Regions from separate parts of the Homo sapiens genome. Here region 1 is linked to region 2. Evidence: promoter capture Hi-C in 16 types of primary human blood cells and fetal thymus (Javierre and others, 2016). All regions are on one chromosome and are shown on one strand. The core of a region is centred on a gene start or on the middle of the fragment in contact, and the rest is flanking DNA. Distances in the headings are between cores, read along the strand shown.

Region 1 (6,032 bases), core at 2,684-5,183, 52 kb after region 2:
ACTGATTTGGGACCTTAATTGCATGTTCAAAATTTATTCATAGCAACACATAGATTGATGTTTGAATAAGTGGAAGAAAGTGTATGTACACCAGGACCCAGAAATTTGGAAGGCCAAATGGTGCCTACCACAGACTAGGACTAGGGAGGGTATAGAATAGAAGGTCAATGTCAGGGGAATTATTAAGTGGCGTCCACATATGTTTAATGTTAAAGATTGGCTAGTATAACTGGCTCATGATGTTCTGCATGCTTAAAAATTAAGGGAAGAGAACAAAGGTCATGAAAATCTCTATGACCTTGGCAGACTGAAGCTCATTAAGTAATAGTCTAGGTACTGCTAAAGATAGCTACAAGCAGGTCAGAGGAAAACTAGTTTGCTATTGGAACCAGTTATCTGAGTTATCCATGCCATTGTAAGTGATAGGTAAGTACAAATCTTATATAAAGACAAATGTAAACATAACTAAACATAAATATAAATAAGCATTTTAAAAAACCAGAATATTTATAAAGTAGAATAAGGCAGAGACCATTTATATTTGAGAGAACTATATTTTATATCCAGTACACATATAGACCATGTTTCCTTATTTTATATGTCTATACAGCAGCTAGCCTTATTTTGTAATACATGGTAAAAGGAATAAATCATTGTTAATGTTTAATGAGTAATAATGACAGCTGGACATTTAAAACCCTCCTTGGTACGGTTCATCTTATCTTTCCAGAATTATCTATTATTTCTTTCCTACTTTTACTTTGTATACCAACAAAACAGAATGGCTCATTTTTCCTCCAAACCTATTGCTACACCTTTGTTAAGTGTTTACCTCTAATATTCTCCACTTCATCAGTAGCTATTGTTTCTACCTAGCCTTTAGGGCCCAAATTAAATGTCCCCTCCTTTATAAAGAATTTTTTTAAATCTTTCTCAGCTCCCATTGTAAATAGTCTTTCCCACTTGAACTCCCTTAGCATTTTGTTCAAATGTATAGTGCATGCCACTTTCTACCTTATACTATGGTTATCTGTATTTATGACATAGCTCCTCCTACTTGACAAGGTCTTCCTTGAGCAGTAACTCAGACTTTTTTTATTTCAGATTACCTATGGCGCCGGGCAGAATACCCAGCACTAAAAGTGCTTAAAAATTGTGAATCAATCTTTTGAATGACTGTTTCTCTTTGTCTTTATCTTAATGCCAAAAGCAAGGCAAAATAAGTCAATATTATTATGGCTAGGGAAAGACCTTAACTACCTCAAAGAGACCTTAGTTACAATTATATTTCACAGAATTATGTCTCAAAACTCCCCAAAGTTCAGTTTCATCATTGCACTAAGTAAACCCTTGGTTAAGCATAATCTTCACACATGCACAGACTTGCATCATACCTGTGTGACACAAGCCAGGATCGCATCAATTGCCAAGGGAGGTAAGTTCCTCTAGGCAGCCTGACCCAAACCTCTCTTCTGTTACAGCTTTCCAGAGTTCAATCAATTTACCAGAGGGAGAGAAAGGTATTTCCTCAAGAAATCATTTTTTTAAAAAAGGTGACATGAAACTGAGAGAGTATATATTTGTTCTATGATAGAAATGGCTGACATGACATCTTCCTATAGTTTCCATGAGTTTTGTTGTAAGATTTTATGGAAATATATACTGAATTAAATTTAGACATCATTCATATCTGTTTCACAAGAAGTTTTATGAGCATACAATTTTTCTCTTTAAAGACTTGAGTTAAATTCTGGCTTACAAGTTAAAGAGCTTGACAGGACAGATATGTTGTCATTTAACCAATCACTTCAGTGCACTCAGAGATGAATGAAGTAGCAGCCATAAAAAAGAACAAAACCATGTCCTTCGAGGCAACATGGATGCAGCTGGAGGCTATTATCCTAAGTGAATTAACACAGAAACAGAAAATCAAATACTACATGTTTTCACTTATAAGTGGGAGCTAAACATTGGGTACACACGGCCATAAAGATAGAAACCAGAGACACTGGAAACTCCCTAAGGGAGGAGGTAGCAAAGGAGGCAATGGTTGAAGAAACACCTATTGGGTACTATGTCCACTATTTAGTGACAGGTTCAATAGAAGCCTAAACCTCAGCATCATGCAACATATCCATGTAACAAACCTACGTGTGTACCCTCTGAATCTAAAATTTAAAAAAGAAATTAATGAAGTAATAGAATTAAATTAACTATGCTCTTAACTTCATCACATTTTAATTTATAAATTAAAGGCAACATTCTCACGGCATAGTCACATACTACACGTGCAGACACATGTGAAGCGCACATCCAGAAGAAGGCAGTAAAGGAGGAGCACGGAAATAAAAAACACATGAAGAAATAGAAAGTGAGTACTGAGAGGGTAGACCCAAAAGCATATCAGTAATTACTTTAAGTACAAAAGGACTAAACACTCCAACTAAAAGGCAGATAGTTAGACTAAATTTAAAAAATGGAACCAACGTATAAGACACAAAATTTAAGGCTGGGTGCAGGGGCTCCCAGCAGTTTGGGAGACCCAGGTGGGCAGATCACTTGAGGCCAGGAGTTTGAGACCAGCCTGGCCAACATGGCGAAATCCTGTCTCTACTAAAAATACAAAAATTAGTCAGGCATGGTGGCATGTGCCTGTAAATTCCAGCTACTCAGGAGGCTGAGGCATGAGAATAGCTTGAACCTGGGAGGCAGAGGTTGCAGTGAGCTGAGATTGTGTCACTGCACTCCAGCTTGGGCAACAGAGCAAGACTCTGTCTCAAAAAATAAAAAGACAAAAAAATCCCATATGAGGACACAGAACAGTTGAAGGTAAAATGATGAAAACATAAATACCATATACCGTGTAAACACTAATCATAAGAAAGTTGATATGACTACATTAATATCAAAAATAGACTTTCAGGCAAAAAATATTACTAGATATAAAGGGACATTTCCTAATGATAAAAGGGTCAATTCAATAGGAAGTCACAAAAATCCTTAATGTATATTTGCCTTATAACATACCTTCAAAAAGGAAGTAAAAATTGACAAAAATAAAAGGATCAACAGATAAATCCACAATTAGAATTGGAGATTTAAAAATACTTCTTTCTGTAATTGATAGAACAGGCAGACAATATATCAGTAATATTAATAATATAGAAGATATGAACAATACCATTAACCAATCTGACTAATTGAACATTTATAGAGTTTATAGAATATTATACTCAACAACTACAAAAAAGAAAAAAACACATACTATTTATATGCACATAGATCACTCACCAAAATAGACAATATTCTGGGCTATAAAGCTAGTCTCAATACATTTTGAATGACTGAAATCATACAGAATATATTTTCTTATCACAATGGAATTAAATTAGAAATCAAAAGCAAAAAGATATGTTCAGAAATTAAGAAATACATTTCTAAATTATCTATTGGTCAAAGAAGAAATCACAAGAAAAGTTAGAGAGTATTTTGAATTGAAAAACAATACAAATTAATTCTATGAGATACAACCAAAGCAATACTTAGTAGAAAATGTGTATTAAATGCATATATTAGAAAGGATGAAAGTTTTAAAATCAATGATCTAAGCTTCCACTTCAAGGAGCTAGAAGAGAAAAGTACATTCTAAAAAAGTGTGGAAGATCTATAAGCTAAAAGTAATCAAACATTGCTCAAAAAATTAAAGACCTGGCTGGGTGCAGTGGCTCACGCCTGTAATTCCAGCATTTTGGGAGCCTGAGGCAGGTGAATTACTTGAGCCCAGGAATTTGAGACAAGCCTGGGCAACATAGTGAGATCTCTTCTCTAGTAAAAAAAAAAATTAGCTGGGCATGGTGGCACACCTGTAGTCCCAGCTACTCAGGAGGCTTGAGCCCAGGGGAATCGGGGCGACAGTGAGCCAGTGTTTGTGCCACTGCACTCTAGCCTGGGCAACAGAGTGAGACTCAAAACAAAAAAAAAAATTAAAGACCTAAATAAGTGTAGAGATAAACCACCAGCGTGGTGTTTTTGAGATATCATTTCCCCCTAAAATTGATCTATAGATTTAACAGAATCCCAATCAAAATCCCAGCAGGCTTAATTATTTGTATGTAGAAACTGATAATATGAATCTGTAGTTCATATGAAAATGCAAAAGACCTAGACTAGCCAAAACAATCCTAAAGAAAAAAAAAAAAAACCAAAAATCCAACACTAAGCTAGAAGACCTACTTAAACAGATTTAAAACTTGCTATAAAGCTTAGGCAATTAAGACAGTGTGGCATTGGCACAAAGATAGATAAATAGATCAATAGAACTGAAGAAAGGGTCCAGAAATAAGCCCATGGATATTTGGTCACTGGCTTTACAACAAAAACAATAATTTATATCCAAGAAAAAAAAGGATGGTCATATCAATGGATGGTGCTAGAGCAACTGGATATTCGTACGTATAAGAAATAAAATTTGACCCTTATCTCACACCTATGCACTAAGTCAATTCTGGGTAGATCAAATATACACTTGAAAGCTTAAACTACCTTGAGATAGGGAAAGGTTTTTTTTAACAGGACACAAACAGCACTAACCATAACATTTTTTAATTGATAAATTGGTCTTCATCAAAATTTTAAAATCTGCTCATCCAAAGGTACTATTTACGAAGAGAAAGGAACTCCATAGCCTAGAATGAGGGTGTTCAATCTTTTGGCTTCCCTGGGTCACGTTGGAAGAAGAAGAATTTTCTTGGACCACACATAAAATACACTAACACTAATGACAGCTGATAAGCTAAAAAAGGAATTTGCAAAAAAACTCAATGTTTTAAGGAAGTTTATGAATTTGTGTCGGTTTGAATTCAAAGCCATCCTAGACTGTGTGTGGCCCATGGGCTGTGGGTTGGACAAGCCTGGCCTAGAAGAACATACCTGCAATACATATATCTGACACAGCACTTCTATCCAGAATATTATATATTTTACATAACTATGTAAAAGTTTACAAGTTGTATTTTTAGGATTTGTATATATAATTGTTTATAAATTATACCTTAGTAAGTAACTTTTACATATATGTGATATATTTTTTAAAATCTATATATTATAGATTAGGACCTTACAACTCAATAATAAGGCAAGCAATCCAGCCTGGGCAATATGGTGAAACCCCGTCTCTACTACAAATACAAAAATTAGCCAGGCATAGTGATGCATGCCTGTAGTCCCAGCTACTCAGGTGGCTGAGGTGGGAGGACGGCTTGAGCCGAGGCTTAGGTGTTGGGAGAGTTGGGGTGGGCAGAGGTTGCAGTGAGCCGAAATCGCCCCATTGGCAAAAAAAAAAAAAAAAAAAAAGAAGAAGAAAGAAAAAGGAAACAAATCAAATAGAAAAATATTTAACGAGTGATTTTAATGCACAATAATTCAACCAATTTCACAGAATCAACACCGTACCAGAGTGACCAACCATCATGGTTTGCTCAAGACTGAGGTTTTTTTTTTTTGATTAGGGACTTTGAGTGCTAAAATTGGGACAGTCCTTAGCAAACCAAGATGATTAATCATTTATTAAAATAGAAACCCATAAATATTTCAGTACATATATGTAAAAGAACTCTTGTTTTCACACAAATCACCATACCATTATTACAGCCCAAATTAACAATAATTATTTAATATCCATAGGATTATATCCACTGAATAGCATCAACATCCAGTGGCTGTTCAAATTTCTGTGTCATAAATGTTGTATTTTTATAAGTTGTTTGAATCAGAATCTGAATAAGATAAATATATTGCAATTGGTGAATATGTCCTTTCAATCAATAGGTTCCCTTCCATATTTTTATATTTTCCTTGTAATCTATTTTTAAGAAAAATGAGTTGTTTTAAGGAAATTTCTACAGTTTGGATTTTGACAATTGCTTATCTGCAGTTTAGTTTAACATATTCCTCTAGCTCCTATATATTCTACCAATTGATATTTGGATTTTGAGGTTTAATCACATTCAGGTTCAATTATATGACTATCTCAT
Region 2 (5,993 bases), core at 3,224-5,723:
TAGGGTACTTTTCCTTCATTGCCATGAATCTTATTTCTCTCTCTTTCTTACAACACACCCAACTAGGTCTTGTCATGCCAGGAAACAAACAGCTACAAAAGCTGATTTTTTAGATGTAAAAGTTAGTAATGATGACCCAAATTAACTTCGATAAAACACTATCTTCTACTGGAACGTAACTCTTAAACATGACTTATACTGAACCAAACTGCCTAAAATATGGAAGAGTGGTGTTGTTTGGAGATTTACTTATGGGTCATGTTATTATTTACTCTTAAGATATAGAAACCATGTAAGCACAATTATGATAGAACTATCAATTAGTGTTTTCTACCATTGCAAAGGGAAATAAACTAATTGAGAATAAAAAATAGGCATGATTATTTTATTATGTGTAGAATTTTAATTTTGAAGGGCAATTTATGAAATATTATTAGTCACATGAAAATTATTGAGAAAAAAATTTAAAACACAACTCATCTATATTAGACCATATCCCTGAAAATAAAAAACATTAAACATTAAATTAGACACATTTATATAAAACCGGCAAAGATAAGCATCTCAAAAATAGTTAGGGCTATGCACAGAAAAATATTAAATCTCATAAACATGAGGCAGATTTACTTCCCCAATTGTTTTGATGAAATCCTACCTTGAATGATGCATATTTTAATACAAACAAATAGTAAGGCTTAGACTCATACATGAATCATAACAAATGAAGATCCTAATTCTCTTAAGTTTTTTGAAAATTTTTGAATTCATACCATATCTACTGTTAACTTTGATTTTACCAAGATGAAGCACCTCCCTTAGGTTATCCAGCAAGTAATTAAAATTTCATGAGATTATCAAGCTTAAACCACATTTCAACTTTTCTGACTACATTTCAGCATACTATATAATGGCATAGGAAGTGAACTAAACTTTAGACTTCAATGTGAATTTATTTTCACAAAATTACTTTAAAGAGGACAATGCCTAAACTATCACTTTAAAAGCTGAGTTCTGTTTAAAGACAAAAATAAAGACATGGCTCATTCATTAAGTAAACATTTATTTAATGTCTACTGAGCAAAATACTGTACTAAATATTGTGACTCCTGCCCTATGACAATCAAAGAAATAAGAAAAAAAAATACAACTTATGGCCGGGTGCAGTAGCTCACGCCTGTAATCCCAACACTTTTGGGAGGCCGAGGCGGGCAGATCACTTAAGGTCAGGAGTTTGAGACCAGCGTGGCCAACATGACCAAACCCTGTCTCTATTAAAATATAGAAATTAGCTGGGCATAGTGGCACATGCCTGTAATCTCAGCTACTCAGGAGGCTGAGGCACAAGAGTCACTTGAACCCAGGAGGTAGAGTTTGCAGTGAACCTAGATCACACCACTGCACTCCAGCCTGGGCAACAGAACAAGGCTCTGTCTCAAAAAAAAAAAAAGGAAAATAAAAAGACAAGTTAGTAAATACAAAATTATATAGTACAACTGAATACATAAAAACAGAGGTGTTAAATAATAAGACTAACATAACTAAGAAATGCTTCCCTAGAAAGATCATTATTAAATCAACTAAGACATTTTCATAGTAGAAATTACACACAAAAAGGAAAGAATTAAGAGATTCAGCAAATATATTTTAAGTGGAAGCCTACATTGGGGAACGAATAAGATAAATTTGGAGAAGACTGTAAACCCAATTGACAGACTGATTTTACATTAAACATAATAGGAAATAATAACATACTATAAATGCTTGGATAATAGAAAAGTGAAGAAAATGTTAATTAATGAAGGTGTCTCTTTCATATATATATGTAGAATGAACTATATCAATGGAAATAAAACCAGCAAAACTGTTGTTGCAGCTACCCAAAGGTAAATGATGAAGTTCTGTGTTAGTGTGGTTGAAGAAGACATGTGACAGGCTGGGTTGTTGAGGGAAGTAAAATCTACTCTTGTCTCTTTGGAGCCAAGGTTATTACAAAATAATAAGAATAAAAATAAGCCAAAACATTCCTGAGCTACTAGCAAAATTAAAGGCCTAGAGGTCTTGAATGTATGACAGATGAAGAAAGTCCCATAGCTGTAGTTTCAATGGTACATAGGAAACTCTGTTACTCCCATAAGGTACCAGATAACCATCCTAGAACTGAGTAAAAGATTATTCCATCGATTGCCTCCAAGTTGGTACACTGGATTGTGGATCCAATTTGACATAATGCAGATAAAAAGTTCAAGTATTACAAATTTGAAAATGTGCTTTTAACATATTAATGTTACATCTTATCTTTGATAGAAGATCTTTGTGATACTATTATTCTGAAGTAGGAATTAATCCTTAATTCCTAGTAACCTTGTGAACAGGAGTCACAAGGATTGTTATATCATAAATTCTTGGCTGGGCGCGGTGGCTCATGCCTGTAATCCCAGCACTTTGGGAGGCTGAGGCGGGTGGATCACGAAGCCAGGAGATCGAGACAATCCTGACTAACACGGTGAAACCCAGTCTGTACTAAAAGTACAAAAAATTTGCCGGGCATGGTGGCGGGCGCTTGTAGTCTCAGCTACTCGGGAGGCTGAGGCAGGAGAATGGCGTGAACCCAGGAGGTGGAGCTTGCAGTGAGCGGAGATCGCGCCACTGCACTCCAACCTGGGCGACAGAGCGCGACTCCGTCTCAAATAATAATAATAATAATAATAAATTCTTGATGTAAGCATAGTAAAGGCAATAATTACTCTTGCTCAGGGATTGCTCATGCCATCTACATACTCTTAATAGACACTCTTGCCCCCAACTTGAGGAAAATCAAACAGGTTATACAACTCATGTGGTCCTTCTTAAGTGTCAACCCACAACTTGGTCATAAATTACAGTAGGCAGGTGACACATACAAGTCACAAATAGTTTTGTCACATCAAATTTTACTTTTGTTCTACTGAAAATAGGTGGCAAACCTGCAGAATAATAAAAGAAAAGAAAAAACAATCAAACTAGCAATTAAATTTATTTTAAAGAAAGAAATAAGTTGGAATTATTTACAATTTAATAATGCTACATGACGGCAGATAGCACACAGTCATAGATTTGTAAAAGGTGCCTGTCACCACACACACAAAAAAAATCACTCACACTGACTATAACTTGTTAAATAAATCATGTCTTTAAGTCATTAATATGATCAACAAATCATCAGGAACACGACAAGGAAAAAGCTGAGCTTCTGTTCTTAATGTGAAATGCAGTCCACCAAAGAGACAACCAAAATAACTAAACAAACCTCTGTGCTGACTGATGGCATTTTCAGACTCCTGAATAAATAGGAAATGTCCAAAGCGCACGCACACACACACACAAAAGGAACAATCCCGAGACAAACCTGGCTGTAAAATAAGTGTGGAAGCAAAATGATAAATTCGGAGGTATTTTTTATTTGAGAGACATCCCGAGTGCTTATATTGCATCACCAGTGAAGGAAAATGAAATGTTACCAGGATCCGAAAAGGAGTCTCTGAACAGGGTGTACACTGAATTCCCCTTTAATAAAAAGAGAGCAGCTCTAAACAAAATTTTTTTTTAACTTCCAGAAAGCCAAATTAAAAACAAAACAAAACAAAACAAAACAAAAGAAAGAAAGAAAAGAAATGGCTTTACCCACAGTCCCATGTCTGGGACAGAGTTCTTCTACCAAGCCATGCAAAGTGTCCAAGACAGAGGCCACCCACCACGCATTCCCAGACTCTTAACCGTGTCACTCCAGAAACCGAGAGGACTTGGATTTCCAGATTGCTAACGTGATCTGAAGGCACTCAGTACACGTTTCTGTCTGGGCAGGACCAGTTGAGCCACTTCTCGCCTTATCAACTTCCAATAATTGCCACACTGTGTGTGCAACCAGTAAGTGAGTGGCACATGGAGTCTGACCTGGCACTCCATTCACACACTTTGTCTGATACTACTTTCATTGTCTGGGCTCTTGTTTTTGGAGAAGAGCTGCCGAAAAGTATCACCTTTTCCTCTATCACTAACCTTTACCTTTACCTCTATCCCTAACATGGGATGCCGAGGTGCAGAGGCACCAGCACTGCCCTGCCATCACTCTAGTGGATACGGACCCGATTAGGCGTCCTTCTTCCTTCTGCCCACACCAAGGCCCCCCAGGCCGCGGCCGCTCACCGGGAACCTTCCCAGGGGAGCGGCGGAGGGGCGAGGCCATGGTGCGGGGACCTGCAAGAGGGCCCTGACCCTGATAGAGAGGGGCCGATGGGCGGCCAGGTGGGCCTGCGGGTTTACCTTGTTGAGGTGAGGGTTCCGTGTCAGCAGGTAGCCGCGCTGATGGGTGTGGCGGCGACGGGGGGCTTCGGGCTCCATGGCTGGCGCCGGGTTCGGCGGCGGGGTCAGGCCGGGGCGGGCCGCACGCGCGGTGCAGGCGGCGGATGCTGCTGGGGTGACGGTGCTGACTGCAGCTGTGGCGGCGGCGGCCGCACTGGGAAAGGCCCAGCGGCTGGGGGCGGGCGTGGGTGGCGAGAGGGGGTGGACGCGTCGGGAGGGGCCCGAGCGAAGCCGGTGTCCCCAGCAGGGCAGCCTGCGAGAAGCGCTGAGTCATGGCAGGAGATCATCCGAGCCGGCGTGTGAGGAGGAGGAGGAAGAGCGAGTCCTGGCAGCGCTGCTGGTGGCGGAGCGGGGGTGGCGGCCGGAGCCCTTGGCTCCATAGGGCCTCTGCCCACCATGGGCTTATGATCACCGCTGTGGTCGCCTCTCTCCATGTGGGCATGCCTAAACGCAGTGCACTGGGTGGCTCTGCTGACCCCAGAGACCCAGGGCGGGGGCAGGGAGCGGGGAGCGTCAGGCCAGGATCCCCCTGCCCGGGAAGGCTGGAGAAAGTGCGAGAAGATGCCAGAAGGTGCGAACCTGAGCGGTTCAGGCAGAGCCGGCGGTCGCTCAGACACCTAGGGGGATTACAGGACGGAAGGACTCGTGAGGGGTCCCCAGAACTGTTGACAGAACACCTCGACAGGCTGAGGAGAATCAGACTCGTCTCTCCTGTCTTGTTAGCGTCTTGGAAGCCCTCTTTCTACAGATCCACAACCTTCGCCGTGCCATCCAGGATGCCGGCCATGCCCGGGGCCCTGAGGCCGGAGGGAACCAACCTTGACCCAGAATGCCGAGGCCCAAGGGAACTGGGAGGAAGCCCAGAGAGGAGAGCTCAGGCGCCACACCTGTCAGTTTCTACAGATTTTCCACCGGAATTGTATTTGAATGTCAATAAGATAAGAGTCAAGGTGTTAGGGTGCAAAGGCCCAATGAACAGTCCTGTTTATCTTGTATATTATTTCTCTGGGAGTTCTAGAAACCTGATGTTCAAGAACCACTGCTCTCTCTGAATAATGATGAGTAAGCAGTCTTTCAGGCCTTCCTCCCAACCTCAGGTGATCCGCCCGCCTCCGCCTTCCAAAGTGCTGGGATTATAGGTGTGAGCCACCGCGCCGGGCCATTTTTTTATTGTTTTATTGATATTTATGCTTGGAGGTTCATGGACTGGAGGAATAGTCAGATCATAGCCAAAAGGAGTGCCTGTCTGATAAAAATAAATTAATAGCAACAGACACTAAAGCCTTCTGTGCCCCAGTTTCCTTTTCAGTTAAATAGGATTGCTAGTTTCTGTCCCATTTGTCTCTGCATACTGATATTACAAAGGATAGTGTTTGAGATTATTTGCTGATTTTATATCTCCATATACTAGACACACATCCAATCACAGTGTTTTCATTTCTAGTTATGTTAACTTTGCCTTATCAGAAAGATTTCTTACAGTAATTGTATTTTGTCCGTATTTACATTTAGAAGCTTCTTTGACCTCGCCTGAATTATCTAGAATTCGTTGTTTTTATAGAGAATATTTTCTAGGCATCACAAAGTTCTTTTTGAAAAAAATCCTTGAAGTTAAATGACACCTTTCATTGTTAATTCTATACTCCATAAATACT

Evidence for each region. Contacts are between HindIII fragments. The CHiCAGO score rates a contact against its expected background, and 5 or more counts as called.
Region 1: a contact is called between a fragment that was not itself captured here and the fragment with the promoter of ME1 in region 2, in 1 of 17 cell types (monocytes). The highest score is 5.2, in monocytes.

What each region holds. Positions count from the first base shown.
Region 1 is chr6:83,479,275-83,485,306 of GRCh38, forward strand. No RefSeq gene overlaps it. Among named protein-coding and RNA genes, the nearest start is that of PRSS35, 30 kb to the right of the region's middle. The HindIII fragment of the contact is 652 bases long and covers 3,608-4,259 here.
Region 2 is chr6:83,426,578-83,432,570 of GRCh38, forward strand. It overlaps ME1 (malic enzyme 1), which reads right to left and starts at 4,474. Exons shown (of 14, transcript NM_002395.6): 1 at 4,300-4,474. The coding sequence starts at 4,377. RefSeq lists enhancers at 3,688-3,957, 4,578-4,747, 4,690-5,889 and a silencer at 4,178-4,367. The HindIII fragment of the contact is 4,994 bases long and covers 858-5,851 here.